Regions from separate parts of the Homo sapiens genome. Here region 1 is linked to region 2. Evidence: promoter capture Hi-C in 16 types of primary human blood cells and fetal thymus (Javierre and others, 2016). All regions are on one chromosome and are shown on one strand. Each heading gives the region's core, a stretch centred on a gene start or on the middle of the fragment in contact. The rest is flanking DNA. Distances are from core to core; before and after follow the strand shown. Region 1 overlaps TP53TG1 (TP53 target 1). Region 2 holds the start of ELAPOR2 (endosome-lysosome associated apoptosis and autophagy regulator family member 2).

Region 1 (3,315 bases), core at 1-2,500, 280 kb after region 2:
GACTGAGAGCCCAGAAGAGGTACAGGAAACACCTCAGACATTCTCAAAACTTTATACAAAATATATTTGCCTCAAAAAGCAAGGAGATAATGCTGAATAAAAGTTGACACATTATTGTGTAAACACTAATATAACAATATCTTTAAGCTTCTTTAACAATCTTAGCGCTTCAACATTATTTTATTTTTATTGACCTAATAATAAGTCATTTGAAGTTTTGCATAAAGTTGCCAAGTTCCTATTTCTCAGGGAAAAACTTTCAGTAAGGAAGAGCCCTTAATTTCTTCTTTAGTACCTGCTTAAATTGAATGGTTCCTCAAACATTACTATTATTTTTGAGACTGAGTTTCACTCTGTCACCCAGGTGGGAGTGCAGTGGCATGATCATGGCTTGCTGCAGCCTTGACCTCCTAGGCTCAAGTGACCCTCCCACATCAGCCTTCCAAATAGCTGGGCTACTGGTGTGCACCACCATACCAGGCTAATTTTTAAAAAATTTTTTGCAGAGACAAGGTTTTGCCATGTTGCCCAGGCTGGTCTCGAATTCCTGGGCTCAAGCGATCCACCCACCTTGGGCTCCCAAAGTGCTGGGATTACAGGCATAAGCCACTGTGCCTGGCCTCAGAAATATTTTGTACGAAGTAATAAACATAACCATTAAGTGCATAATATTTAAAGTCATTCATAAAACTCACCCTCCTAAATATGGGAAAAGACACATCACACAATCACCTTGCTGTTGATTACATGGTCTGGGGTCTCTGCCTTCTCCCCTTGCAACAGCCCTCTAGCCATGGGGGCTTGTTAAGAGTAGATGTGAAGGTTTCAGGTCGCAGCCTGTGGGACTACTGCTTAGTGTGTGGGGTGCTTTGCCTGCACCCATGGTTTCTTTAAGTCTTAAATGATGCCCGCTCCAAGCCATCATCCTAACCCCCACTCCTCCACTCCCGCCCTTGGCCAAAGCATAGATTGTAACCCCCTGCTACTCTCTGAGATTGGCCTTTGATGAGGAATTCAGGGCTTTCCCCATATCTTCTCTCCCCCACCTTTATCAAGGGGCGCTGCTTTTTCTTCCCTCCTTCTCAAGTGTCTTTTCGCACCATCACCAACCAACACCTTCCAAGACACTTCCTTGCTTTGGCCAGAAGCCATCAGGTAAGGTTGGAAAGAGTCTCTGACCTCCCTTGTTTAGTTTTAGAATCTCATTTACTCACTCTCCGCCAGCCTGGGAAATGACTTTGGGTCCTCAGCCCTGCCACTCTCTGCTGTCATCATCAGCTGATGCATTGGTTTTAGCTCAGGTTTTGATAAGGTGAAGAGAATTGTTACCAGGGTTACTCAGACCTGCCAGCTCTCAGAGTCCTTGGTGGTTAAACCTGGAGAAAGAGCACATGAAGACACTTGAAAGCACATATGATCCCTCTGCATTGTTTCATTTTCTTGTAATTGCTTTCGCTTTTAAAAATTGAAGAAGTTTTAAGCAGGGCTCTCATTTGGTCATCCTTGCAATCCACTGGGGTCTAGTTTGGAATCTCACAACTGGAACAAAAAGAACCTTGGATCCAGTGCATGCCTTGGTTTTGGTGCTGCTCCTGCTTCTCAAGATCCTCAGCAGGGATTAAGAAAGAAATTGGGGTACACAGCAGATCCCTGAAATTGGCAGACTTGACCTCCTGGAAAAATTGCTGTGTTTTTCACTTTCTGTTCAGGACCACTACTAAATGCTGAAATGTGGATGCATACCAAACTAAAAGTGATTCGTTGTGTACTAAAGTTTTTTAAAATTATTTGTGTAAAATCATCTTTTGAAGCAGAATCAAGTCTGAAAAGCAACTGATGTTTCCATTAATCTTTTTCTGGGGAAAACCTCAGTTCTAAGGATTTAGCATCCTGTAAGTGAAGTTTAACATAACAGTATTCCATAAGCAGCCTTTTTATGGTCAGACCATTGCCTAATTTTAATATAATTTTAAAATGTGTGCATTAATTAAAAAATGGGAAAAGGATCTTAATAAACATTTCTCCAAAGAGGATATATAAATGGCCAATAAGCACATGAAAAAATACTCAACACTCTTAGTCTTCACAAAAAAATGTAAATCAAAACCACAAGACACCACTTCACATTCATTAGAGTGGCTGTATTTTTTTTAAAAGACAATAGCAAGGGCTGTTATATTGTTATTGTAACTAAAGGCACAGAGAAATTGAAACTCATATTGCTGGCAGATATGTAAAAACGGTACAGTTCCTTTGGAAATCAGTTTGACGGTTTTTGAAAATGTTAAACATAGAGTTAACATACGACCCCACAACTCCACTCCTAAAATACTAATTGAAAGCCTGTTCACACAAAGCTTGTACACAAATGTTTATAGTACCATTATTTAAATAGACAAAAGGTAGAAACAACCCAAATGTCCATGAACTGATGAATGGACAAACAAAAAGTGGTTCATACATTCATCAGTCAGTTGATGAATCATGTTTAATGCCTGTTGGTAACACAGAATTTAGAGCCACTTTGCTTCACTCTTTTCCCAGTCTTGTTATTTATTTCAATGGAAACAAAATGTTCCTGTAAAGATGCCTGGATTTTTGGATATAGAAAAAGTTGTGGGACTGAAAAAAATGAGTGGAACAGAGATTTGAGTATGTAGAAAATAATCTTTTTAAATATTTGAACCAAATGTTCTAAAATTAGCTTATGGTGACTGCATAACCCTGTGAATATAGTAAAACCATTGATTTGTGGACTTTAAATGGCCGAACTTTATGGTATGTAAATTATATTTCAACAAAGATGTTAACAAAATTTTTAAATGTTATATTTTGTTTAGTAAGAAGGTATTTTTTTCTGAGATGCAAAAACATCATAGTTATCTTAACTCTTCCCCTCAGATTTTGGTGGCAACTTTTCATGTACTGTAAATATCATCAAAAGCAACCCCAAATCAATGATTAGTACTAAAAAGAGACCTTTTGTATCAAACACTGTTCATCTGCTGTTGGCAGTGGAGTTCATTTTTAATGCTACATTGCCCTCTTTGCGTCCAGTGTACTTTAATTTGCTGTTGGCTGCTTCCCAAAATGACCATATTTCTACTGCCCCCCCATTAAAAAGAAGAAACATCACAAAATTATTTCTTCAACATGTTCATTTTATACATCAGAATGAAAGGAGGTTACAGGTCTCCCATAGATTAGGGCTATTTACCATATCTCCTTACTTATTAGAGTCACAAATCTTAGCAGGAAGCCAGTTATGCAGATTGAAACATGAACTTCTTAGTCTAGCATTTTAATACTTTTTAA
Region 2 (3,629 bases), core at 130-2,629:
GGGTCTGGCCTTTCTTCCCAGAGGGGCTATTGGCTAACCTATTTTTGCTACATTAATTAAAACGACCCATCGCCCTGATTCCTAACAATCTTCCTAAAAACAGTATCTATTCCATATATCCTCCCAACACAATCAAAGTAGGTCAGAAATGTTGCTTCCTTCCCCTCATTGATTTTCATTAAGAGGATGCACTTTCTGAACACTAAATGGAAAGATAAACACCCAATACAAGAACCAATGACACCCCCTGTAAATTTTTGGCACACTGTCTCGTTCTTCTAAAAGCCAGATAAAAATCTCATCTCCCATAGTTTATCCTTTTTGGCTGTAAAACAACAATGATTACAAGCTATAAAATACACCGCGGCAATACTTCAGCCAGGTGATAAAGCACCTCCCAAAAGAAGCATATTCACTGTCTTTTCTAATTTTCTCCATCATCAACCTGCATCTTCTCTACCAAGTACATACTCCTTTTTTTTCCCCCCCAAATTCAAATCCACATTTTGTCAGAAGGATGCTAAGTGACACCATACATTGGCTTAGCAAACCCACAGGGCCTTAATCAGGAAGCTGAGGGCAGGGGAGTAGGACGAAGGCGTTTGCAGAGACAGGGGAGTGGAGACAGGGGGAGGAGGAGCGGGAAATCCTCTGGTGTCTGTGTCTGGCTCTCTGGAAAAGCTGTGATGAGATGGTTCTTCAAATCCCACTGGTGGGGCTTCCCCAGTCTCCTCCCCTTCCTGAAATCTTTCCCTCGACCCCAGGTCCTCAAACCTGGCTGTCCAAAAAGGACGCCGCAAAGTCCTGCAGAGCCCCCAAAAGACACAAGCGCGGACAGAAAAGCATCCCCCGAGAGACAGCGAAGCCACACACCCTCTCCGGGCCAGCTACCAGGGCGGGCAACTTCACCCCTCGAAGCAAACGAAAGCCCCTGTTCTCCAAGCAAAGGAAAAGGGGATGGCAAACAGAAATAAACAGGAACCGCTCTCAGCCTTCATCTTCCGCGCCCTCCCCCAGCAAACTCCAGGTAGAGGACCAGGTGCTGCTCACCTCCTGGCAAGGAGGAAGCGGGCGGCTGGAGGAGGAGGGCAGGTCCCCAGCCCAGGCCGCCTGGCAGCCGGCGAGCGCCCAGCAGCAAATCCAGGCGGGGCTCCAGGGCGGCGAGCGCCCGCGGCGGGGAGCCTCCGCCGGCCGCCCCCAGCCCCTGCCCCGTACCGGCCCCCGGGCGCGGAACAGCATCTTCGTCCGGCCGCGGTCGGCGGGCCGGCGGCAAGGCAGCCTTCCCGGGGTGCGGCGGCAGCTCCGGCTCCCGGGCCGCGACTGCTGTGCGCTCGTCTCGCCGCTCCGTCACCCGCTGCCCGTCCGCCCGCTGACAGCTCTGCTGCGCTCGCGGCCCGGGCAGCCAGCGCCGATGCTCCCGTCACGCCGGAGGGAGGGACCGCGGGGCGCGGGCGCGGCGCGGGGGCGGGACGCGGGGCGGGGACGCTGGAGCTGGGGAGCAGGTGGCGCGGGCGGGGGCTGCGGCCCAGCCCGGCGGGTCCCCAGGGGCTGCGCGGCGCTCGCCTCGCGCTAGAGGGCGAGAGAGGCTGGGGACCCCGTGGAGTAGCCTGTCTCAGGTCCCCGTGGCCCACTGGGAGGGGCGCTCCCGGGATGAAGCCAGAGTAAATACAGGACATCAGGACATTGTTTTCTGGCGGTGGGTCTTTAAAAAGCTCGCCACTTTCCTCATTGCACACAAACACGCAGATGTGCCCTCGGAACATCCCTTGTAAGGATCCATGCTGGCTAGCGTCAGATCGAATTTCTAGTTAGGGTGTGCATGAAATGGCGGGGAAGAAAGAGGACTGAGGTGTAGACGTGGTGTGTGACTCAGTTTTCTCACCTATTTAATGAAAATAATACCCACCACGTAGGATTATTATGAGGATTAAGTAAGTTGATGTACATAAAGCACTTGGAAGAGTGCCTGGCACACAGTAGGTGACATGTGTTGGTAGTAGTAGCCATAATTATTGCTGCTATTGGTGTTATTTTGTGGAGATGTGTAACATTGGGCATTAAGCCCTGTGTTTTCTGGAGGAAACAGTTTCTCCATCTGTGCGATGATTGAGGTGCTCTTCGTTTTTTCTTTCATTCAAAAACATACTGAACTAGGTGATGGTGAACAAGATGGACATAAGGCCTTCCTCAGTGGCAAGGATCTCAAGATCCCTTCTTGATCTCAGATTCTGTAAATGGGTGAGTTATTGTGTTTTTCAAAAGAAGCATCCAAATTTCTGATTATTGAATATCTGGACAAATCCACGTGGCCCACTCATTATAAGTTGGCCTGTGGCACATTTGTTTGTGGCATTATCTCTAATATCCTTTTAACAAAATTTCCACATGAAAGTCTCTGTATATGTGTGTTTGTGTGTATGTATACACATATAGATTTGTGTATCACACCTATATTCTGATTATAACAATATATGTTATTTGTAAACATTTTGGAAAATATTGAAAAGTATCAGGAAGAATATAAAAATAACTAGAGATCCTACCACCCAGAGATAACATTGTTAATGGTATTAACATGTTGAGGAATTTCCTTGCTTTTTTTTTTTTAACTCTGTGTGTACTGCAAAACTGGAATAATAATTTGTAACCTGCTTTTATTTTTATTCTTAATAACATAAATATTTTCTCAAGTCATTAAAGTCTCCAACAACACAACTTTAATAATTGTAAAATATTTTCTACTCTTTAGATACATGTAATTTACTATTAGATATTAGGCATTGTTTAAGGATTCAGTGTTATTAATAATTCTGGAAAGAATGCCCTTGGAACATAATCTGTGTGCATCTTTAAATATTTTATGATAACTTTCTAGAAGTGAAAACATTGGATCACATGATATGTGTATTTTTAAAGTTTTTGACGAATAGTGTACAAATTCCTTCCAAAAAATTTGTAGCAATTGTTACCAGCAGTTTATGAGTATTTATTTCACATCACCCTAGATTATAATACTTCAGATATTTATCATTTTGGTAGAAGAGACAAAAGCTATTATTTTTAAAATGTATTTTTATCATTGGTGACATCGAGTGATTTTTTATATATATCTACTAGCTATTTGCATTTTTCCTTCTCATGTCAGGGTGTGAGAATTTTTCACTGGCACACTTTAGCCATTTTATTGAAGTTCCATTTTTTATTGATTCGTTAGCAATCTTCATAAGCTTTGTGTATGTTTATCATATATCTTACAAATACTTTTTTGTAGTCTTTTAAATTTACTTCTGATAGCTTTTCTGGCAGAAGCTTGTCATCTTTAGGTATTCAAATGTAGCAACATTTTCTTTTGTGATTTCTTCCTTTTTTATATCTAGAAGTACACGTATCTCTGCAAAATCATACAGATGCCTATGTTTTCTTATTTTGTTATATTTTGTTATTATTTCCTTTTTATATGCTTTATTCTTTAATTCATGTGGAATTTTTAGGAGTCAAATTATGTTATGATTTTTGTCATCTGAGAAAGAACTAACAACATGACTATTAAATTGAAAACAGCTTCTTTCCTTATAAAAATAAGAGTCGTCCAGTCAATGCACTTGGATCAAATGACAATTGTAGATTTT

What was found. The method cuts DNA at HindIII sites, captures the fragments that hold promoters and counts their contacts. A CHiCAGO score of 5 or more calls a contact.
Region 1: a fragment that was not itself captured here is called in contact with the fragment with the promoter of ELAPOR2 in region 2 in 2 of 17 cell types (activated CD4 T cells and non-activated CD4 T cells); the score reaches 5.2 in activated CD4 T cells.

Annotation. Positions count from the first base shown.
Region 1 is chr7:87,340,309-87,343,623 of GRCh38, forward strand. TP53TG1 (TP53 target 1) reads right to left here. Exons shown (of 3, transcript NR_015381.1): 2 at 1,215-1,376. Among named protein-coding and RNA genes, the nearest start is that of TP53TG1, 3.5 kb to the right of the region's middle. RefSeq lists an enhancer at 1,465-1,534. The HindIII fragment of the contact is 2,210 bases long and covers 146-2,355 here.
Region 2 is chr7:87,058,275-87,061,903 of GRCh38, forward strand. ELAPOR2 (endosome-lysosome associated apoptosis and autophagy regulator family member 2) reads right to left here and starts at 1,380. Exons shown (of 22, transcript NM_001142749.3): 1 at 1,051-1,380. The coding sequence starts at 1,239. RefSeq lists an enhancer at 342-842 and silencers at 1,108-1,177, 1,268-1,657. The HindIII fragment of the contact is 3,663 bases long and covers 1-3,225 here.